2 separate regions of the Homo sapiens genome follow, and region 1 is linked to region 2. Evidence: promoter capture Hi-C in human tissues and cell types (Jung and others, 2019). All regions are on one chromosome and are shown on one strand. The core of a region is centred on a gene start or on the middle of the fragment in contact, and the rest is flanking DNA. Distances in the headings are between cores, read along the strand shown.

The links. The method cuts DNA at HindIII sites, captures the fragments that hold promoters and counts their contacts. A contact is called where the count stands out against the background at its distance.
Region 1: a fragment that was not itself captured here is called in contact with the fragment with the promoter of STK25 in region 2 in 3 of the 25 tissues and cell types used here (IMR-90 fibroblasts, bladder and pancreas).

Annotation. Positions count from the first base shown.
Region 1 is chr2:241,419,693-241,426,898 of GRCh38, reverse strand. All of the region lies in intron 8 of FARP2 (FERM, ARH/RhoGEF and pleckstrin domain protein 2), which reads right to left. Among named protein-coding and RNA genes, the nearest start is that of MIR3133, 55 kb to the left of the region's middle. The HindIII fragment of the contact is 3,912 bases long and covers 1-3,359 here.
Region 2 is chr2:241,507,278-241,513,818 of GRCh38, reverse strand. It overlaps STK25 (serine/threonine kinase 25), which reads left to right and starts at 5,235. Exons shown (of 12, transcript NM_001271977.2): 1 at 5,235-5,376; 2 at 5,684-5,813. The coding sequence starts at 5,784. LOC107985788 (a long non-coding RNA gene) reads right to left here and starts at 4,947. Exons shown (of 2, transcript XR_001739177.2): 1 at 4,722-4,947; 2 at 3,924-4,381. RefSeq lists silencers at 4,831-5,600, 5,881-5,930 and an enhancer at 6,361-6,410. The HindIII fragment of the contact is 21,130 bases long and covers 1,237-6,541 here.

The DNA of each region.
Region 1 (7,206 bases), core at 154-2,653, 83 kb after region 2:
CCCAGGGTCTTGACCACCATGATAAAAGGAGAAATAAATAGAAAATCCAAGGACAATCACAGCTTTCATCTACTGCACCCTGACTTGACAGACTTTAAGACAACACTTTTAAACCTGCACAGTTAGCTGTGGAATGCTAAAATCTACTGTTTTCATTTTCATATTCATCCAATAATCCAGGGCATATCTGAAAATGCCATATAGACTACACGACTGGAAACAAACTGCCAGGTCAGGGTCACCCACTCCACATCAAGTCCTCTTCCTCAGACAGAACCAGCTTCACCTCTCTTGGCTGCCTTTCTGGGATTTACTCTCATGCATCCATTCATTCACCCGTATTTCTGAAAAGCACATTTATGACAGCTAGCACATTCTCCACTTTGAAATCTTGCCTCCTCAACATCTGTCACTGCCAATACCTCACACCTACCCCTCCCCACACTCTCCTAATTGTTGGTAAATTTTAAATTCAGTATTTATATTAATGGTCATGTAAGCATTGCTCACAAGCTGAGCTATAGTGAATTTAACTACTTTTTTTATATTATAAAGTAAAGCTTCCTTCTTCAAAATTTCCTTGAGAATCCTAATTGCCTCGTTTCATTTGCTTCACCGGCATGTACCTATCCCTAGTTAACACTCTTCCACACCGTCCAGCAAAAGAAATGAGTCCCTGGTCTACCCTCTCTCCCGGGGCCCTGCCCTCTGCTCTGGTATTGGTGGATGCTCTCTTGGCAGGCAGAACCTGTGTCTTCCTCTGCCTGTCTCGGATGTGGAGCACCCTATTTCCTTCTTTCTCACTTTTAGTTCATTCTCTCCTCTAGTTTTTCCTTACAAAGGGAGAGTAGTAGTTAAATTTTTTAAAAATCTACATGTGTGAAAAAAGGTTTTCTCTGTACAGAAGTCATGTGGAACAGAGCACAGAATTCTAGTCTAGAGCCCCACACACACCAAATTTAAAAAAAAAATCGCCAAATGCTCGGGGAAACTGATTTGAGTAATAATAAAACTGTAGTCTCAAAAAAAAAAAAACAAAAGAATTAGTTTGGAAATAATTTCCTTTTAATGTTTGAGATGCTGCCATTGCAGTGACATTGCACTCCAGCCTGGGCAACAAGAATGAAACTCTGTCTCAAAAAAAAAAAAAAAAAAAAGAGAGAGAGAGAAATTGTACCAGCTCTTCTTTGTACCTCTGGTTGAATTCAGCTGTGAATCCATCTGGTCCTGGGCTACTTTTTTTTTTTTTTTTTTTTTTTTTTTTACTTGGTAGGATATTATTGCCTCAATTTCACAACACATTTCTAGTCTATTCAGGGATTCAATTTCCCCCTGGCTCGGAAAGCCCCGTTGCTTTCTAGCTTCCAGTACTGCTACGGAATAGTTCCAGGCCATTTTAAATCACACTTCTTTCTCTCTTCTTCCTGGGAGTTCTTGGGTCTTCTCCACTATTATCCTTTGTTGGATGGATAGACTGCAAAATTTTTCTCCCATTCTGTAGGGTTGTCTGTTCACTCTGATGATAGTTTCTTTTGCTGTGCATAAGCTTTTCAGTTTAATTAAATCTCATTTATCAATTTTTGCTTTTGTTGCAATTGCTTTTGGCATTTTCGTCATGAAATCCTTCCTGTGCCTGTGTCCTGAATGGCATTGCCTAGATTTTCTTCCAGGGTTTTTTTTGTTTTTGTTTTTGAGACAGGGTCGCACTTCATCGCCCAGACTGGAGTATAGTGGCTTGATTTTGGCTCACTGCAACCTCCGCCTCCCAGGCTCAAGCGGTTCTCCTTCCTCAGTCTCTCAAGTAGCTGGGGTTATAGGCACCCACTATCATGCCTGGCTAATTATTATATTAGTAGAGACAGGGTTTTACCATGTTGGCCCCAGGCTGGTCTTGAACTCCTGACATCAAGTGATCTGCCCCCATTGGCCTCCGAAAGTGCTGGGATTCAGACGTGAGCCACTGTGTCTAGCCCTCATCTAGGGTTTTTATAAGTTTCTTTCTGGTTCAGTCTTGGGAGAGCGTATGTGTCCAGGAATTTATCAGTTTCTTTTAGATTTTCCACTTTATGTGCATAGAGGTGTTTATAGCATTCTCTGATGATCGTTTATATTTCCGTGGGTTCAGTGGTGATATTCCCCTATCATTTCAGATTGTTCATTTGATTATTCTCTATTATCTTCTTTACTAGTCTAGCTAGCAGTCTATTTTATTAATTTTTTCAAAAAACCAGCTCCTGGATTTGATTTTTTGAAGGGGTTTTTGTGTCTCTATCTCTTCAGTTCAGCTCTGATCTTGGCTATTTCTTGTCTTCTGCTAGCTTTGAGGTTTGTTTGCTCTTGATTTTTTAGTTCTTTTAGTTGAGATGTTAGGTTGTTAACCTGAGATCTTTCTAGCTTTTTGATGTGGGCATTTAGTACTATAAATTTCCCTCTTAACAATGCTTTAGCTGCATCCCAGATTCTGATATGTTATCTCTTAGTTCTCATTAGTTTCAAATAATTCTTGATTTCTACCTTAATTTCATTATTTACCCAAGAGTCATTCAGGAGCAGGTTGTTCAATTTCCATATAGTTGTGTGGTTTTCAGTGAATGTTTAAATCTTGAGTTCTAATTTGATTGTGCTGTGGTGTAAGAGACTGTTTGTTATGATTTCAGTTCTTATGCATTTGCTGAGGAGTGTTTTGCTTCCGATTATGTGATCAGTTTTAGACAAAGTGCCATGTGGTGATGAGAAGAATTTATATTCTTTTGTTTTTGGGGGGACAGTTCTGTAGCTATCTATAAGGTCACTTTATCCAGGGCTGAGTTCAGGTCCTGAATATTTTCAGAAAGTTAACTTTCTGTCTTGATGATCTGTCTAATATTGTCAGTGGGGTGTTAAAGTCTCCTATTATTATTGTGTGGGAGTCTAAGTCGTTTTTTAGATCTTTAAGAACTTGCTTTATGAATCTGGGGGCTCCTGTATTGGGTGCATATATATTTAGGATAATTAGCTCTTCTTGTTGAACCCTTTACCATTATATAATGCCCATCTTTGTCTTTTTTAATCTTTGTTGCTTTAAAGTCTGTTCTGTCAGAAACTAGGATTGCAAGCCTTGTTTTTTTCTGTTTTCCATTTGCTTGGTAAATTTTATTCCATCCCTTCATTTTGAGTCTATGTGTGTCTTTGCACGTGAGACAGGTCTCTTGAAGACAGCATACCCATAGGTCTTGGCTCTTTATCCAGCTTGCCATTCTGTGTCTTTTAATTGGGGGCATTTAGCCCATTTACATTTAAGGTTAATATTGTTATATGTGAATTTCATCCTGTCATCATGGTCCTAGCTGGTTATTTTGCAGACTTGTTTTTGTGGTTGCTTTATAGTGTCACTGGTCTATGTATTTCAGTGTGTTTTTGCAGTGGCTGTTAACAGTTTTTCCTTTCTGTATTTAGTGCTTCCTTCAGGAGCTCTTGCAAAGCAGGCCTGGTGGTGATGAATTCCCTAAGCACTTGCTTGTCTGAAAAGAATCTTATTTCTGTTTTGCTTATGAAGTTTAGTTTGGCCAGATATGAAATTCTGGGTTGGAAATTTTTTCCTAAGAATGTTGAATATTGGCCCCCAATCTCTTCTGGCTTGTAGGGTTTCTGCTGAGAGGTCCCCTGTTAGTCTGAAGGGATTCCCTTTGTAGATGACCTGGCCTTTCTCTCTGGCTGCCTTTAATATTTTTTCTTTTATTTCAACCTTGGAGAATCTGATGATTATATGTCTTGGGGCAGATCTTCTTGTGGAGTATCTTACTGGGGTTCTCTGCATTTCCTGAATTTGAATATTAGCCTGTCTCGTTAGGTTGGGGAAATTCTCCTGGATGATATCCCAAAGTATGTTTTCCAACTTGATTCCATTCTCCCTGTCTCTTTTGGGTAACCCAATCAGTTATAGGTTTGGTCTCTTCACATAATCCCATATTTCTTGGAGGTTCTGTCATTCCTTTTCATTCTTTTCTCTCTATTCTTGTCTGCCTATTTCAGAAAGATAGTCTTCAATGCTCTGAGATTCTTTCCTCTGCTTGGCCTATTCTGCTATTGATACTTGTGATTGCAATGTGAGGTTCTCGTGTTGTGTTTTTCAGCTACATCAGGTAGGTTATGTTTCTCTCAAAACCGGCTATAAGCTCCTGTGTTGTTTTATCATGGTCCTTAGCTTCTTTGCATTGGGTTACAACATGCTCCTTTAGCTCAGCAAAGTTCATTATTACCCACCTTCCAAAGCCTGCTTCTGTCAATAATGCTATCTCAGCCTCAGCCCCAGCCCATTTCTATGCCCTTGCCAGAGAGGTATTGTGGTCATTTGGAGGAGAAGAGGCACTCTGACTTTTTGAGTGTTCAGCATTTTTGTGTTGATTTTCTCATCTCTGTGGGTTTATCAAACTTTGATCTTTGAGGTTGCTGACCTTTGAATGGGGCTTTTATGGGTTTTTTGGTTCATGTTGTTGTTGTTTTCTGTTTTTTTTTTTGATACAGGGTCTCACTTTGTCACCCAGGGTGGAGTGCAGTGGCACGATCTTGGCTCACTGCAACCTCTGCCTCACAGATTCAAGCAGTTCTCCCTCCTCAGCCTACCGCTGTGCGTGGTTAATTTTTTTTTTTTTTTTTTTTGTATTTTTAGTAGAGATGGGGTTTCACCACTTGGCCAGGCTGGTCTTGAACTTCTGACCTTAGGTGATCTGCTTGTTTCAGCCTCCCACAGTGCTGGGATTACAGGTGTTTGTTTTTTGAGACAGTCTCGCTCTGTTGCCCAGGGTGGAGTGCAGTGGTGTGATCTCAGCTCACTGCAACCTCTGCCTCCCCGTGTTCAAGTGATTCTCCTGTCTCAGCCTCCTAAATAGCTGGGACTACAGGTGCCCACCACTACACCCAGCTAATTTTCGTATTTTTAGTAGAGATGGTGTTTCAACATGTTGTCCAGGCTGGTCTTGAACTCCTGACCTCAAGTGATCTGCCCACCTCAGCCTCCCAAAGTGCTGGGATTACAGGTGTGAGCCACTACGCCTGGCCTGTTGTTTTTAGGGCTGCTGCAGTTTGCTGGGAGTTGCTCCAGACCCTAGTTGCCTAGGTTTTTCTGTACCTGGAGGTATCACCAGCAAAGCCTGTGAAACAGAAAAGATAGCAGGCAGCTTTCTCCTCTAAAAGCTTTATATCCCAGGAGGGTACTGACTTGTTGCTGGCCCAAATGCACCTGTAGGGGGTGGCTCACCCAGTCAGGAGGAACAGGGTCAGGGGCCCACTTAAAGCAGCAGCCTGGCTGCTTTTTGCAGAGTACGTATGCTGCATGTGGGGGAACTCTTCCTTATCCAGACTCCAAAGCCAGCAGGCTAAAATGGCTGAGTCAACCAAACTAGAGATGGTGGCCACCCCGCCCCCGCAGGAACTTGGATCCATCTCAGGCAGATTTCCAGCCTGCTGCTGTTGGCTGGCTAGAATTCCAAGCCAGTGGGTCTTAACTTGTGAGGTGCTGTGGAAGTGGGCCTCACAGAATGATACTGCTTGGCTCCTTGGATTCAGCCTCCTTCTTAGGGATTTGTACAAACAGATTTCCCACCTTGCTGGGGGTCCTGAGGCTGAAGTATGTGAAACTCCTAGGTCTCTGTGTGTGCCTCAGTGGCTGCTCTGCTGAGACTGAACACAACTCTGTGTATTGGACCCAAGGTCCTAGTGGCATGGGCTCATGAGGAGATCTCCTGATCTGTGGGTTGCAAACATCTGTGGGAGAGGTGTAGTTTCCTGGGTGAGGTTGCACAGTCACTCACCATTTCTCTTGGCTGGGGATGGGGGTTCCTTTGGCTCCATGCTGCTCTTGGGTGGGCCATCAACCCCCACCCTCGCTTTTCTTCATCCTCTGTGGGTTGAGTTGTTCGCCTAGTTAGTTTCAGTGCAAGAACCTGAATATTTCAGTTGAAGGTGAATCCACTCACCCCTTTTCTTTCCTCTTCGTGAGTGGTGTGAACCTCAGTTGCTTCTAATCAGCCATCTTGGATCCTCCTATATTATAATTTTAAATATCTGTGCTTAGAACTGAGGCTGTCATAACTCTGTGGATGATGGAGATGAAATTGTGGAGCCCAGGGTCTGCTGGGGTTGGGTTCCTATTGTTGCATGTGGGGCCAGGCAGTAAACCTGCTAAAAAGTAGCAGAGCATGTGCCAGCACAACTCTGCAGGACAAAGAGGCTGATGACCCCTGCCTGGCGTGCAGACCAGGTAGGAGACATGGGGTGGGGATGGACTGGGGCAGCCTGTATTTTAATTTGCAAATGTTTTTATGTTCTCCATTTGTTTCTATCATGGTATCCTGCTCATTTCAGAGATGCAGTGTTTTATTCCTGTGAAGGTTTTGTGAAAATGTAATACAGTGATACATTCACAAGGCTCAAATTCTGAAGGTTCAAAAATGAGTCCACAGTGCAAGTCTCCCTCTCAGCACTGTTCCAAAGCCTGCCAGCTTGGCCACTCTTCCCTGGGGCCATTAATGTCACCAGTTCATTTAATAGTGTGGAATATAGTGCACATATAATTTTCTCTCTTTTCCCCACAAGCAGTAGCTACTATACAGAGTTTTCAATCTTTTCTCCATGTAATGATGCATCTTGAAGGATGTCTCATTATTGGGACATAAAGAGCTGCTTCCTTGTTTGTACAGTTGCCCAATATTCTGTTCACATGGATGCACCACCATTTATTTAGCTGGCTTTTATTTATGTACTTATTTAGAGACAGGGTCTCACTCAAGGTGCCCAGGCTGCAGTGCAGTGGCACGATCTCGGCTCACTGTAGCCTCGACCTCCTGGGCTCAGGTGATTCTCCCACCTCAGCCTCCTGAGTAGCTGGGACTACAGGTACATGCCACTACACCCAATGAATTTTTGGTATTTTTAGTAGAGATGAGGTTTCTCCATGTTGCTCCAGCTGGTCTCAAACTCCTGGACTCAAGCAATCTGCCCACCTTAGCCTCCCAAAGTGCTGAGATTACAGGTGTGAACCACTGTGCCAGGCTATTTAACTGGCTTTCTAACGGTTAATTCCCAGAATTTTACTATCACAAACAAGGCTGATAAAAATAAAAAAATTACAAGATAAAATTTTACATTTCTGATAAAGAAGTATTCCTATTTCTCATAAGCATGAACTGTGAGCCCTTTCTGGGGCTCCTGGGAACATGTTGGCTTGCA
Region 2 (6,541 bases), core at 3,986-6,485:
GGTTTTTCATACCAATGTGTCTTGGTTTGGTCCTCTCCTATTCACCATGGGGGGAGCTCAGTGCCTCCTTTTACCCAGAGACCAAAATCCTTGAACTCTGGGAAATGAAGATTTCTTGGCCGGACACGGTGGCTCACGCCTGTAATCCCAGCACTCTGGGAGGAGGAGGCCCGTGGATCACGAGGTCAAGAGATCAAGACCATCCTGGCCAACATGGTGAAACCCTGTCTCTACTAAAAATACAAAAATTAGCTGGGTGTGGTGGCGCATGCCTGTAGTCCCAGCTACTCAGGAGGCTGAGGCAGAATTGCTTGAACCTGGGAGACGGTGGTTGCAGTGAGCTGAAATCATGCCACTGCACTCCAGCCTGGTGACAGAGCAAGACTCAAAAAAAAAAAAAAAAAAAAAAAAGGAATTTTTGGCACTTTCTTCCTCTCTGGAATTCCCATTAGTTTGGTACTGGACTTGAACTTCTAAGCTTATCTTACTTCCTGAGTTCCTTAATTTTATCTTCCAACTAAACTTTTCTTTTCTCTTTTTGGAGACAGGGTCTCACTCTGTTGCCCAGACTGGAGTGCAGTGGTATGATCGCAGCTCACTGCAGCCTCCACTTCCCCGAGTTCAAGCAATCCTCCCACCTGAGCCTCCCAACTAGCTGGGACCATAGGTACACACTACCACATCCAGCTAATTTTTTTGCATTTTTTGCATACATAGTGCTTTGCCATGTTGCCCAGGCTGGTCTCAAACTCCTGGACACAGGTGATTCTCCCACCTTGACCTTCCAACATGCTGAAATTATAAACTTTTTCTTTTTTTTTTGAGACAAAGTCTTGCTCTGTCGCCCAGGCTGGAGTGCAATGGCATGATCTCAGCTCACTGCAACCTCCACCTCCCAGGTTCAGGCAATTCTTCTGCTTCAGCCTCCCAAGTAGCTGGGACTATAGGCGTGTGCCACCATGCCCAGCTAATTTTTGTATTTTTAGTAGAGACGGGGTTTCACCATGTTGGCCAGGCTGGTCTCAAACTCCTGACCTCAAGTGATCCACCAGCCTGAGCCTCCCAAAGTGCTGGGATTACAGGCGTGAGCCACCGCGCCCAGTCTAAACTTTACTTTTCTTAAAACATGTTATCAATGTCTTTGGTTCTGTGGGTTCACTGAGCCCAGCTGAGTGGCTCCTCCTAAGAGTTGTGGTGACAGAACCTAGGGGTGGTGCTGTCTGAAGGCTCACCTAGGCTGGAATTCCATTTCCATTCATGTGTCTGACATTGGGGTGGCCACACAGCTCAGGGCTGGCTCTGCATCTACCTTTGTGTGTCTTTTCCACATGAGTTTCTGGGTAGATTTCTTAGGCTGACTTCTCCAAAAGTAAGAATCCAAGAGCCTGCGGTAATTTTAATCTATTGTCATTTTATCTCCTGATAGCCTTTTCTTGGGCTGTTTCTTGAAGCATTCTGTGTTTGTTCTAGGAATGTTCTAACGAGGTTCCAGAATGCTCTTCATTTCTCTGTGTTTCTATTTCTTCTCACGTCATCTTTCTAATTTACGTTGGTCTCTATTGTTCATGTTGAAAGTCTTCCCAAATACCCAATATCCTTAGCAGTCTTAAAGAGACTAAGACTGAGGTGTTAGGAAGCTCACAAGGAGTTTGCATTCAAAAGCAGGACTTGTCAAGCGCTGGGCTTTGCTGTAGAGACTGTGTAGGAAGCCCACTCTCAGGCCAGCCTAAATCCCACCTTACAGGGGTGTCTTTTTCTGGAATACCCCCACATTATTTATGCTAGGAAACCCTGTTGCTGTATGATTTGTGTGTGTGAGGGGATGGAGGGATGAGGAGTGGGAAGCTGTTGACTCATGCACATACCTGTCTCCATGGTGTCTCTGCTGTCGACCTCCTCTCCCCCAGCTCCAGCCCCTCACCTTTCCAGGGCTCTGTATCCAATGGAGGGGGCTCAAGTGAAGGCTTCTTCCCCCCATTTCACTGTCACCAAGCTTTACCTCTGGACATTTGTGGCACTCACCTGCTGGGAACCCACTCCTTTCTCTGAACAGTTTCAGGGTTTAGCCTCCCTTCCTGAGCCCCTTTTGACAAGTTATCAGGTCCCTGGTAGGGAAAGAAGAACAAGCTCAAGTGCCCGATCTCTTATCTTAATCAGAAGGGGAACCCAGTTCTAATCCAGATGCTGCTATGCTGTCCTCTTTCTGGGTTTCATTTCCTTGTCTGTCAAACCAGAGGGTGGCTTGGCCAACTCACACCTGACCCAGGTTGACACAAAGTCCAACTCCAGCTTCTCTCCACTCCTACCTGAATTCCCAGCAGCATACAAACAGGACTCAGGAGACCTGGGTTCAATCCTGTCTTTGCCATATTCTGGTTGTGGCCTTGGGCACGTCCCTTTACCTCTTAGTTATCCCTTGCCTGCCTCGGAGGGCTGTTGCAGTCACCAAGTGACTGGACCTGAAGGTAAGCTGCCCAAGGGGCTCAATTGTGAGTGTTCCCTCCTCCCACCCAAGGTCAGCCTTGTCAATAATAAACACAGTGACTCTCTGAGCACCTGCCAAGGGCCAGGCCCGCCACATACGGTGTTATTCTCACAATCTACAAGAAAAGTACTATTAGCGCCATATTCCCAAGGAAGAAAGTGAGTGCCCAGAGAAAAAACTAAAATTTCTTGGAGGTGAAAAATAGAGACCAGGCTCAGTGGCTCACACCTGTACTCTGAAAGCACTTTGGAAGGCTGAGGCGGAAGGATCACTTGAGCTCAGGAGTTTGAGAACAGCCTGGACAGCATGGGGAGACCCCGTCTCCACAAAAATTAGCTGGGTGTGGTGACATGTGCCTGTGGACCCAGCTACATGGGGAGCTGAGGTGGGAGAACTGCTTGAGCCTGGGAGGTCGAGGTTGCAGTAAGCCAAAATTGCCGCACTGCATTCCAGCCTGGGTGGCAGAGTAAGACCTTATCTGGGAAAAAAAAAGAAAGAATCACTGAAAAGAAAATTTTTATATGAAAGTTGAAAGATAAAACCGAAGAATAAGGCCGAGCGTGGTGGCTCATGCCTGTAATCCCAGCACTTTGGGAGGCAGAGGTGGGCAGATCACGAGGTCAGGAGTTTGAGACTAGCCTGACCAACATGACCAACATGATGAAACCCCGTCTCTACTCAAAATACAAAAATTAGCCGGGGGTGGTGGCGCACGCCTATAATCCCAGCTACTCAGGACGCTGAGGCAGGAGAATCGCTTGAACCTGGGAAGCGGAGGTTACAGTGAGCCAAGATCGCACCACTGCACTCCAGCCTGGGAGACAGAGTGAGACTCCGTCTCAAAACAAACACACAAACAAACAAAAACCCCGAAGAATAACAGAAGTATACAACAACAAAAAAGAAATGGAAAACAAGAGAAACGGGATGAAGGGCCTGGAAGGTCAATGCAGGAAAAGACATGGTGATGATCACGTCCGGACGGCAGCTTAGCAAGACAGCAGCCAGGAGCAAAGGGTTAACAATTGGCCAAAAGCAGGCAAAGGCTGAAAAACTCTTCTAGGCACTTTTATTAATTTGTTTTTTGAGGCAGAGCCTTGCTCGGTCTCCCAGGCTGGAGTACTGTGGCATGATCTTGACTCACAGCAACCTCCAACTCCCAGGTTCAAGCGATTCTCCTGACTCAGCCTCCCTAGTAGCTGGGACTACAGGCACGCACTACCATGCCTGGCTAATTTTTGTATTTTTAGTAGAGATGAAGTTTCACCATGTTGGCTAGGCTGGCCCCGAACTCCCAACCTCAAGTGATCTGCCTGCCTCAGCCTCCCAAAGTGCTGGGATTACAGGTGTGAGCCACTGCTCCCAGCCTCTTCTAGGCACTTCGGAAAAGTGCAGCGATTACTGACCACACGAAGGCCAGAGATGCAGCAGGCATCTATTTACATGCATTAAATACATATATTATCTTCATGCATTTACACATTCATTCAACAAACATTACTGAGCGCCTGCCGTGGGCTGGCATGGTCCTGGGCACAGCTCCGCTTGCAGGAAGCCCACTTTCTCCTGGGGAGTCAAAGCACAAACAAAGCCAAGTCAGTACGTAAAGAAGCAGGGGTGATGAGAGATGCGGACCCAGGAGGGGTTCAAGGGGCTGTCCTGGACGCATGACAGGGAAGCATAGCTTCTTAAAGGACTCGGCAGTGCACCATGAGAAGACACGCACCAGGGAGCAGAGAGAAACGCCAGAACCCTCTCGAAGAAGGAGGGATGTGAGGAGGTCAGGATAGTCACCTGTGCTGAGCCATCATGGAGAGTGAGGGCCTGTAAGGGTGGACACAGTATGCAGGAGGGACAAATCTTCCTCACCGGACAGGTGGGGATCCCTGCGGTGCACTAGGGGAATGCACACAGGGGGCACTATGACCTGGCGGCCCACGGGGCACGGGGACGCACCAGGTAGCCTTGGGATCTGCAAGTCCCTCCCGGACCCTGGGGAGTGCCATGACGGCTTCCAGCAGCAGTCACTGTCCTGGGCGCGTCCCGCGCTCTAGCCCAGGTGGGTCCCACAACGGTGTGACCAAGGACGTCCTATGACCACCCCTTGACAGGTAAGGAAACTGAGGCAGGAGAGGCGAAGCAACTCGCCCAAGGAATGGGCTGTGCCGGTAGCTTCTCCAAGGCCTGGTGCGCCCTGGCCTGTGCGCGTGATCCCGGGCGGGGTCTCAGTACGAACAGGGGCTTCGCGATGTGGCCAGCGCGGGCTTATCTCCGTGCCGTGACGACAAGGCTAGAAGCCTGGGCGGCCGCGGTGGATCCTCGTGGCGAGGCGGGGAGGGCGCCGGGCCTCACTGGCCCGCTCGAACCAGGGCTGCGCAGGGCAGAGCCCAAGGGAGAGGGCCGCGCGGCCGCCGTAACGTCGGAGACGACGCCTGGCAGGCGCCAGCAAACGCAGAAGACCCGCGAGGGCGAGGCAGGGAGGGCGCGACGCGACAACGACCACGTGCCCCGCCCGCCCAGGCGCGCGGCCTGCCGGGAGACGCAGTCCAAACCTTTCGGGAGCAGGACTAGGGGTCCCAGAGAGCCTCGCGGCGCGCATGCGAGCCCCGGCCCCCTCTCGCGCAGCCTGCCGGGACTTGTAGTCCAACGCCAGCAGGCTTCCGGGCCCGGAGTGGGCGGTGGGACTCGGGGTCCCAGAGAGCCGTGCGCGGGCCGCGACGCCGAGCACCGCCCTCGCCGTCGCCTCCGGGCTTTCTCCGGTCGCTGCCGCCACCACCGTTGCTTCGCGGGCTGGGAGGCCCGGGGTCCCCGGGCGAACAGAGGCTGCGGGTGGGAGCCTTCGCGGGCGCTGCAGAGCGGGCCGGGGGAGGCCGGGATGGAGCCCCGCGGAGGTGGGCGCGCTGCCGGGCGGGGCGCTTGCGGCGATTGGGGAGGGGGCAGAGGGAGGGGCCCGGGGCGGGGCTCGGTGGCGGGGACACCGGGGCGGGGGCACCGGGAGGAAGCTGCCTTGGAAGAGGTGGGGGCGGCGACGGGAGGGGCGGCGAGCCCCCGGGAGCCTGGGCGTTAGGCCCGGGCGTGGCGGGGCCCCGGCGGCCTGGGGGGTCTCCTGGGCCCCCCCCCACCCATGGAGCCCGCCGCCCCGGAGGTCGGTCTCAGATGACTGAACTGGGCACCGAGCGCCCCTGGTGTCCCTCGCAGTGGACTGACGCCGCAGGGGCGAGCTAGCCGGCTCCGCGCCTCTCCGCGGGATCCAGACGCCTCCTGGGGCTGCTGGCGGAGGGTCTGAGGCGGCGCGGCCATGGCTCACCTCCGGGGATTTGCCAACCAGGTGAGAAGGGTGCAGGTCAGGAAGACTAGCGGCCTCTCACCGAGGGGCTCCAGAGTCTCCTGGGGGTTCAGAGGGGAGCGCCACGCCGGAGCGGGCAGTGGGGTGAGGGAAGGAGCGCGCGTCGTGCGACCAGCGGAGCCGTCCTGAGGTGGGCGCAGGGCGGCCCCGGGGCTCTGCCGTGTGCCTGTGGCGTTTTGCGTGGCAGAAGCTCGCAGGCCTCTAGAAACCGAGCCCCTGGTGGCTCCGCCTGTGCGAGGGCGGTGGAGGTGCGTGAAGAGACACCGGCGCAGGGACGGGGCGCTGCCCCCAGCGCGGGGCGGGAACCTCATGTCAGCATCCGAAGGCAGTGGAAGGTCGGGGGCCACCCTGCGGCCTCGGCCTGGGCCGCGGGTCATTCTGGCCGTGTTGGGCTGGGCAGGGGCTGTAGGGGAGACCCTGGCGGGCGCTGAGGGGCTGAGATTGTGGAGAAGCAGATCTGAGTGGCCGGTGTGCAGGGAAAGCAGAGAACACGTGTGTGCTTTGGCCCAGGGGAGGGTGAAAAGGCTGCTCTGTCAGGACCGTTTAACCCCTGCGACGGGCGGTTGCCCGAACATGAGACTCATCTTTCTTCTTTAAAGAAGTCGTTTCCACTATGGAGCCACCTTTAAGCGTCTGGTGGGACAGCCTCGGAGGGAGCCACTACGGCGAGCCCTTAGCCTGGAATGAGGACCAGCTGCTGGTGCCAAAGG